Linked DNA regions of Homo sapiens: region 2 is linked to region 1. The links are contacts of gene promoters, found by promoter capture Hi-C in human tissues and cell types (Jung and others, 2019). All regions are on one chromosome and are shown on one strand. The core of a region is centred on a gene start or on the middle of the fragment in contact, and the rest is flanking DNA. Distances in the headings are between cores, read along the strand shown. Region 1 holds the start of LBH (LBH regulator of Wnt signaling pathway). Region 2 overlaps CAPN13 (calpain 13).

Region 1 (4,418 bases), core at 1,538-4,037:
GGAAGCTGAGTATGCCTACAACCTCTGAGTTCCAGGCCCAGCTCAACCACTTTCCGGCTGTGTGATCTTTGGCAAGCCTCCTAATTTATTTCGGCCTCAGTTTACATATCTGTGAACTGAGGACCATAAGTTGTGCTATGTTAACCTTATCACATTCTTTTGAAAGCCAAGACAATGAAATGCTTCAAAAAAAAAAAAAAAACCTGCAAGGCATCATATAGACTAGTATAACTGAGAAATGGCATGCTAGTTATGGTTGCATCAAAGCTTAGCCCCACGCCTCCCATATTTTATTTTATTTATTTTATTTTATTTTATTTTATTTTTTTGAGACGGAGTCACACTTTTGTTGCCCAGGCTGGAGTGCACAATTTCGGCCTACTGCAACCTCTGCCTCCCAGGTTCAAGCGATTCTCCTGCCTCAGACTCCCAAGTAGCTGGGATTATAGGCACCCACTACCACGCCCAGCTAATTTTTGTATTTTTAGTAGAGACGGGGTTTCACCGTGTTGGTCAGATTGGTCTTGAGCTCCTGACCTCAGGTGATCCACCTGCCTCAGCCTCCCAAAGTGCTGGGATTACCAGGCGTGAGCCACCGCACCCAGCCACCTCCCATATTTTCAAATGAATGGATGTGTCACTGTGATTCCAGAGGAGAAACAGAAAATGCAGACTGGGGATCACAACCCCAGGCTTATTTCTATTTTAACTTACTGACAGAGATGAACTTTAGCTAAAATGGGCATTAATAAGTTTCCCAAAGAGTAGGCCTCAGGTAATTCCCTCAATGCACTCCAATGTAGAGGATTTTTCCAGAGGCCAGATAACAGCTGGTGGAGGCCTTACTCCCCACCCTCTTCTCCAAAATGAGGCCATTTTGACATTTAGATATTTGGGAAAATGGGGAGGGAGGGAAATAGCTTTCTGAGTTTTGAAAGCTTCACATGGCAATAATCACAAACACATAAAGTGTGTCTGTTATGTGTAAAAGTGGCGCAACAGTCTTTGATCCCAGCCTCACCAGAGATTGCTACTGGGAAGAAGTGGCAGAAGGCTTCATCCTGCCCACCCGGGGTCTAGCCCAGACATTTTCCTCTGAGTGCCTGGAAGTCTCAGCCTGGAAACTAGCTCTCCAAGCATTGGCGTCTCCTGTGGCTGCCTAGATGACAATGTGCCACACCTGGCTAGTGACACTGAGAAGCTTCCCCACCCTCTGTGCAGGACATCAACAATAACCCCATCCCTGCAGCATCTCCCGTTTAGCCCCTCCATCAGGCAACACCCCCAGAGGAAGAGAATGCGTTTAGCTTGGGAGGTGGGGGAATTTCTCTGGTTGGAGGGGGCAGCCAGGGGCTTGTCATGAAGCTGTGTTTTCATAGGAAGCACACTATTTTAACTCAGGTTGTACATATAAGCATATAAGTGATTGAAAATAGCCCAGTTATTTTTAAATAAATTATTCTCATCAATTCTTATAATTTTTGTTTGGGCTGGTTTTGCGGGGACTGATGAAAATTATGAGGGTCTTCTCTCACGGCTTCCTTCAGGGTCCTACCCCTGTCGAACCTTCGCCATTAATTCTGTCATCCTTTTGCCTGAGATAAGCTATGCGTTTCCACTTTCAAGTACATATATACGGATTCAATACACTCACTGCCTTTCTTTTAAAAAGCTGATTCACTTCAAAGCCAATTTAATTTTGCTTAGTTTTTGATCTCCCCGCGCCCCCTTTCCTCAGCCCCTATACACAGGTAGGTGAGGGTTCTAAAGCCATTTTACAGGCGTGATTGAAGCGGAGGCCACAGAGCGGCAGCGCTGGGTCCCGAGTGAGACTCCCATCATGTGGCTCTGGGGGGCTGCGCAGCTTTGACTGCCTGGACAGACGCCCAGAGCTGCAATTCCTGGGCAGTGTGGGAGGCGTTCGGCTAAAGCTCTTTGTTTCTGCTGTCATGAGCGACTCCTCGGAGAAGACGTGGGAGTCAAGGATGGGGGGCGGCGTGCACACCGCCCGCCCACACCTTCTGCCCCCGCTGCAGACCGGGCGTATGTGTGTCTCCAATGGAAAAATCCTACCCAGGACGACACCACATCCTTGCTCCCACAAATAAAACCTTCCACGGAACTCAGGGCTGCAGACCAGCCCTTCGCAAGCCAACGCGCCCCGTGGGCACTCGGTCCCCCGGCTCCGCGTCTCTGCCACCTTCCCACCGCTTCTTCTTTAACCATGCTCTTGTTTCCCCTCGCTGATCGCAAGGCTGCGGGCGAGGATTCCAGAGAGAGGCCTAGTATGGGGAACAAACGCTTCAGAGGGGTCCGAGGTGGGCTGGGGACAGCCAGTGGATGGGAAGGAGGGCGCTGGCGCCGGGCGGCTGGGGTGGAGGAGTGGCGGGTGCCCTACCCCGGCGCAGAGCAGCCGCCGAGCTGTCATGTCCCGAGCGGCCCCCGCGCCCTCCTTGCGCCCACCTCCGCCGCGCTGGAGTTCGGGGTGTGCGTGGAGGGGGCTGTGAGCGGGAAGCGGCGCGGACGCGGAGTCCGGGCCGGTGCGAGTGAGCGCGTGTGCGCGTGGGAGAGCGGCGGGAGGGGGCCGGGCTCGCAGCCGCAGCGAACCACGGCCCCGGGAGCAGAGCCGAGCGCGCCCCCGAGCCGCCGCCCGCCGGAGCTGCGAGCGCTGAAGCCATTCATGATTTTGGTGACGTTATTCCAGGAGTGGGCGAGGGAGGGCGGGGCCTCTCGGGGCCAAGCCCCGCCCCCGCCCCTATAAATACGGCTTCCCGGGCTCTTTGTGGGGCTGAGTGCTCAGTGGAGAGCGGGGAGTTGTGTCCACCTTGCCGACGTCGCTAGCCGTGGGGCTGTCCTGGGAAGGCGGACGGCGAGCGCCCGGTGTCCGCACTCGGCCGCCTGCCGTGCCCGTCTGCGCCCGTGTCATCCTCACTCGGGACGCAGGGACCGTTTTTAAATCACAGGGGCGTGTGTCAGCCTGCCCTAGGACTTCATGTCTATATATTTCCCCATTCACTGGTGAGTACCCTGCGCCTGCGGCGGGCGTCTGTCTCGCGGCGGTGGCTGCGGGCCCGGGCGCCTGCTTCGTGCCGGCTCCGGGTGCGAGGGCAGCCGGCGGCGCGGGCGCTCAGCGCTAACCCGCCGCCCGAGCCCGTGCAGGAGTCAACGTCAAGGTTGCAAAGGTGGGGGTGGGGGGAGGGGGTGCTGAGAACATCCAGACAAAGGACGTGAACTCGGAGCCCTCACCTAAGTGACGGCCGGAGGGTTTGTATTGGTTGGCGGGGGAGCCAGGGGTCACGTGTGAATCCCCCCCAATGAAACCACCCTATGCGGAGAGCTGCAGGAGGCGCGCGCCCCACTTGGCGCAGGGGGGCTCCTGCTCTTCCCGGGCCCCTCCTCTTTTTCTTTTTGTTTGCATGCAAGTCTCAACGTCGAGGCCGGCAGCAGCGGGGCTGAGCTGGTGCGGCCGCAGGGTTTGCAGAGCTCCGGGGGGGTGGGGGGCGGGAAACGCTCTCCCCACACGTAACCCCACTAAAGCCACAAGCAGCAGGGCACGCGCTGCAGCCTCTCAACCCCTGCCCTCTCCACCGCCCCTAAAAACCGACGCACATTGGTGGGGGCCGGGACTGGGAGGAGCCGCCTTCGCCGTGCTGAAGGGGAAGGAGCCCGGGCCGGGCGCGGGGCGTCGGAGGTTTGCCCCGGACTGGGGATCGGAGCCGGGAGGGATGCAGAGAGAGGCAGGCCCCTGACTGCTGGGACTTCCTTGCTGGCAGTTTCTTCCTTCCTGCTCTGGGTTAGAGGAGAAGCGGCCGGGGGCGAGCGCCGGCAGCCCCGGAGCGCGCTCTCAGGTGCGGACGTGGGGAGCTCGGCCCCGAGTCTCCGGCAGGCGCTGAGCGAAGGGAAAACCGGCGCAAGCCGCGGCGGGGTCCGGCCTGGCCCAAGAAGCGGAAAGTTCATGCTTCTCGCTTCAACTTTTCGGGCCGGCGCCACAGCCCCGAGCGAGGAAGAGCCGCCCCTACGTCAGACTCTTCACCCTGCGTGCGCTCTTCTGGCTCCTTTCTTTGGAGGTCGCCAGCAGCCTTTCCAAGACCCGGGAGGAAACTGCCTTTGCAGGGCCCAGCTCCCGAACCTAAACTTGCCGCAAAGCCCCGCATCTTCTGTTAGTCTCCCTGCCCCCATCCGTCCCAGCCTGGCAGTGTTTAGAGAGGGGACTGAACTTCCCTCTCTCAACAGTTCAAGTTCCCCCACCCCGAGGCTTGTGTACCCTTCTTGTGGGTGCCCCTCCCTTGCCTCTCCCGTGGTGTGTGAGCAGCTAGGTGCCTTATTATAGGTGAAGCTTTGAAGGCTGTTGGAGGCTTTGTGCCTTTGGCTGCTCAAAATTTGCCAAGGTGGGTGTTTGGACCCATTAAGAATATTAT
Region 2 (4,663 bases), core at 609-3,108, 570 kb after region 1:
TCCTCTGAGATAACCTCTGATCCACCGAGGGCCAGGGAAGAGGCCATGAAATGAAATGAAGGAAACCTCTCTCGTGTCTTCAGATGTAGAAAGCTACACAGGGCCAGGCGCAGTGGTTCACTCCTGTAATCCCAGCACTTTGGGAGGCCAAGGTGGGCGGATCACGAGGTCAGGAGATCGAGACCATCCTAGCTAACACGGTGAAACCCCGTCTCTACTAAAAATACAAAAAAATTAGCCAGGTGTGGTGGCAGACGCCTGCAGTCCCAGCTACTCGGGAGACTGAGGCAGGAGAATGGCATGAACCCGGGAGGCAGAGCTTGCAGTGAGCCGAGATTGCGCCATTGCACTCCAGCCTGGGCTACAGAGTGAGACTCCATCTCAAAAAAAGAAAGAAAGAAAGAAAAGAAAGAAAGAAAAGAAAGAAAAGAAAGAAAGAAAGAAAGAAAGAAAGAAAGAAAGAAAGAAAGAAAGAAAGAAAGAAAGAAAGAAAGAAAGAAAACTACGTAGACCTGGAACAGGTACCAGAGAAGTAAGTGCTCAGAATAGACCTCTCTATTGCCTGCCAGTGACTCTGGGTTCAGCACTGGAGCTGACTGCCAAAGAGATCAACAGCTTGGCGCAAGAGAGGCAGAAAGCAGAAGCGACTTACTGAGGTTCCACAGGCAGGGCAACCCCAGCCTCTTCTCTCCTTACTGCCCTTGCTGTGTGGACCCAGCCTCTTCCTGAATCATAGCTCAGAGAGCTCTGCTGATGGGTTCTTCTCAGGAGACCCTGGGGGTAACCAAGAGAAGGTTTGCCTGACAGAAAGAATCTGTGAAGCTCCACTAAACTCTATGGGCCTTGGGCACGTCGCTCCCTCCCCTAGCCTCGGTCTCCCCACTTGGAACACTAAGGAGGTTGGTCTCGCACTTCTAAGTGCTTTTCTACTGTAAGATTCTGTATTTCTGGAACTGAGACAACAGGTTCTTATGTAGCCTCAATGATACTGTTAGACAATAAAATAGGAACCCACAGAATGTATTATTTCTTTCAATTAAGTTTAGGTTTGTGCCAATACACACAAAAAAGAAACTTGTCTTTGCATGGAAATCTCCTTTCCCCTCCCTAGAGCATTTGATAGGTGTCATTCAATTATGATAGGGTTGAGTAGACTCAACTATATTCTAAGGATGAGGTAGAGCATTCTTTTTTCTGGGAACTAAAACTACATGAGTCTCAGAAACACTGTGTAATATTTAATCTGTGCTCAGATTTCCCAGCATGGTTTTTTTCTTTTTTCATCCTTGAAGGAGAGATGCACTTCTCATTTAGCTAATTCAAATTTTTTCTGAAACAAATACAAATTTAGTAGACTTAGGAAGTTGGGGCCTGCCATGTACCAAGTTAAAATGCAGGGTCTTGAGAGCCGCTGTTTCAGACGAGTACTCCCCAGGCAGACCCTCGGCTCCGGGCCTGCTCACTTCCCAAAGGCTTGAACCGCAGAAGGCTAGGTTTGGGGTCTTTTTCCTTTCTTATTTTTAAGGCTCTTTGGAAGTTGAGGCCACATTTATATAATCCGTTTATTCTTAAAGGATTTCCCTGGGCCTATCTTCTTAGGCTTTTTCATTTAAATGGACAAAGACAAACAGAAAATGGATGAGTACTGGGCACGGTGGCTCATGATTGTAATCCCAGCACTTTGGGAGGGTGAGGCGGGTGGATCACGAGGTCAGGAGTTTGAGACCAGCCTGCCCAACATGGTGAAACCCTAACAATACAAAAACTAGCTGGGCGTGGTGGTGTGCACCTGTAATCCCAGCTACTCAGGAGGCTGAGGCTGGAGAATCGCTTGAACCCGGGAGGCGGAGGTTGCAGTGAGCCAAGATCATGCCATTGCACTCCAGCCTGGGTGATAGAGGGAGACTCAGTCTTAAAAAAAAAAAAAAAAAAAAAAAGAAGAAGAAGAAGAAAAAGAAAATGGAAAAATGGATGAGGCAGAGGCCAAGACAGAGCAACCACACAAAGAGAAAGTCAAAGACTGGCTGGGCGACAGAAAGGGAGCCAGGGACAGCCAGTCAGCAGGGATGGAGACTGAGGAAGAGAGTGGGAGGAATGAGATGGCCCAGACGCAGGGAGGACAAAGTCCACCAGGGGAAGGGATTCTCACGCCAGCCCAGCATTGACGGTGCCAGAATTGTGTCCAAATATTACCCTGTTTTCTTATCCCTCAAGATGTGAATTCTCAAGGCATGGCTGGAAAACAAGGAATGCAGATGATGTGACTCTCAGATGGAGCTTTTTAAAGACCACCGCCCCCTGCGCTGCGTCTAGCCACAACACAGCGGAGAAAGGACAGTAGAGCCGGCTGATGGACCCCTGGCCCGGTTACCTGGGCATCCCAGTCTGTGCCTGGCCATTCTGGGTCTCTCAGGCCTGACCTGTGGAGGCTGCAGAGGCGAGTAGGCTGAGCCCTGGACTGGGAGCTCTGGTTGGGGGGTGGCGGGGGTTTGGAGACAAATCCAGTAGTACCAGTGGCCAAGCACGTTGACTAAGGGAGCCATTCCCTTTTCTGACCAGGTGCTCGGAGACACACGATGAAGGTCCCCAGGAAGGCCCAGGTCAACCTTCTTGTTCTGGAGCAAGCTTCCATCCAAGCAGATGGGGTCCCATCTCTGGGGTCAGGATATGGACCAGTGGGAGGAGAAATGTTTTTCAAAAACAAGAGCTTTCTATATTAAATATGTCAAAAAGCAACATGAAAAAGAAGGAGCTTAGAATGTGTGTGTGTGTATGTGTGTGTGTGTGTGTGTGTGTGTAAATGTGAATGTAAACGTGTCTAAGTGAGTGAGTGAAGCAGAGAAAGGCAGGCTGGGGGGGGGGGGTGGTGGTTAGACCTCTGAGGTTTCCCTTGTTCCTTCTGTCATTCTTTCCCTCTCCAGCCCTAAGAAACGGGGAGAGCCAGAGCTTCTGAAAGCAAGGACTGAGGGCAAGAAGGAAAGACAGAGGAAAGAGAGAGGAGCAGAAATGGCCTAAAAACCAGCTCTTGCAGGGTCCACTGGGGAGATGGTGGGAAGGACAGGACCTGGGGCAGGGGGTACAGGCCTGGGAGCCTCTGCCTGAAAAGAGAGGTAGATGCAGTCCCAGGAGACCTCCACCCCTCTTGCTGTCTGGCCTATGTTCCAGAACAGGCAGGGAGCTGTGGGGAATCCCCACGCCCACCTAGGGCAGGTGACCTGGCTGAGGAAGAAGGCTTGAGGACAGGTCTGAGGGGATGGCAGCACTGGCTCAGGACAGCCCCTGGGTTGACGGAACGTGCATCTGGTGGTCTGCTGGCTGGAGTCCCAGGAGCCAGCCCCTGCAGAAAGCCTCTGCCCTCATCTCCCCCAGGGCCATGCCATCCGACTGTATCTTAAGTTCCTGCAGAAAGCTAGAGTTTTCTGAGGTGGGGCTTAATGGTATATGTAGTTCAGCTGGTTGGCTGCCACGTCTGGTTAAGGATTAGAGTGGGGAGAAAAGAGAATGTTTGGCGAGAAGAACAGGGGCAAAGATTCCTGTCATCTCTCCATCACCTCTCTGGCTTCAGACCTTTGAGAACCAGTGGTCTCTAGTGGGCCACTGGGTGCATCTCCCGAAGGCAGTGTGTGGCTGTGATGGGAGACAGCGCCCCTCTGTGTCTCTGGTCTGCAGGCTGGGACAGGGTCTTGTTCAGTCCTCTGAACTGTGTGGGAGGTGCTGGTCAGACCTGGTCCACAGGCATGGGAGGTGGACATGGCAGGGCTGACCAGTGGAGATCAGAGGGCAGAGTGCTGCCAGAGGGACCATTCTTTCAGAGGGAAAGGAAACAAACCTCCTGGCTGCTCCCAATTTTAAAGGTCCCTTGGGACTTACTTGGCCGAAGTGAGGATGTTAACCCCAGAGTCCTGGCTGTCCTCCAGCCCAAGTCCTTAGAGGCAGCTCGTCACCCCAGCCACTACCGTGGGACATGGTACACGTCCCATCTCATGTTGAACTCACCAGAGAGGGCGGCAGTGGGCAAATCTCCACTTCATAACCCTACAACATGTATTAACAATTTGGATCTCTTTATTCACTAAATAGTTTGTCTCTGAGGCAACACAAGAGATAGATGAGGTGACCTTTAGCTGCCTTTCAACATGAGTATCATGGATTACAAGAGGCTGGGAGACTCCTTGGGGATTGCCTTGTTCACCTCTCTATTATTGAGACAAGGAAACAGGCTTAAGGCTTGGCTGAGCTTTCCTGGTTGTTTCCCGGGAGAATGAGCTCTGCAGATTGGTAAAAGCTTCTCATGCACCCCCACAGCCTTCCCTTATACTGCAGAGTTTTTTATTCAACAGGGTTTGTGCAAAGCAAAAAGTAGTGCATAGTGGAGGAGAGTGCCCTGAGAATTCAGGAATCAAGACAAAAGAGACTGAGCCCATGAACACAGGTCCAACTGGAGTTCAGTATGGGAGGCTCTGGTGCACTCAGTTCAACTGGTTCCTTTGTTTTGGCTTTCTCAGAGCCTGTTCTGTTTGTTTGTTTTGAGACAGAGTCTCACTCTGTCAGCAAGGCTGGAGTGCAGTGGCGCAACCTCGGCTCACTGCAACCTCCACCTCCCTGCTTCATGCAATTCCCCTGCCTCAGCCTCCCAAGTAGCTGGGATTACAGGTGCATGCTA

The links. Contacts are between HindIII fragments. The study calls those that stand out against the background at their distance.
Region 2: a fragment that was not itself captured here is called in contact with the fragment with the promoter of LBH in region 1 in 1 of the 25 tissues and cell types used here (lymphoblastoid cells).

What each region holds. Positions count from the first base shown.
Region 1 is chr2:30,228,747-30,233,164 of GRCh38, forward strand. LBH (LBH regulator of Wnt signaling pathway) reads left to right here and starts at 2,788. Exons shown (of 3, transcript NM_030915.4): 1 at 2,788-3,018. The coding sequence starts at 2,993. RefSeq lists enhancers at 1,454-1,969, 1,970-2,484 and silencers at 2,288-2,837, 3,038-3,127, 3,518-3,717, 3,728-3,787. The HindIII fragment of the contact is 5,872 bases long and covers 603-4,418 here.
Region 2 is chr2:30,799,691-30,804,353 of GRCh38, forward strand. The region is part of intron 1 of CAPN13 (calpain 13); the gene reads right to left. Among named protein-coding and RNA genes, the nearest start is that of CAPN13, 5.4 kb to the right of the region's middle. The HindIII fragment of the contact is 3,194 bases long and covers 262-3,455 here.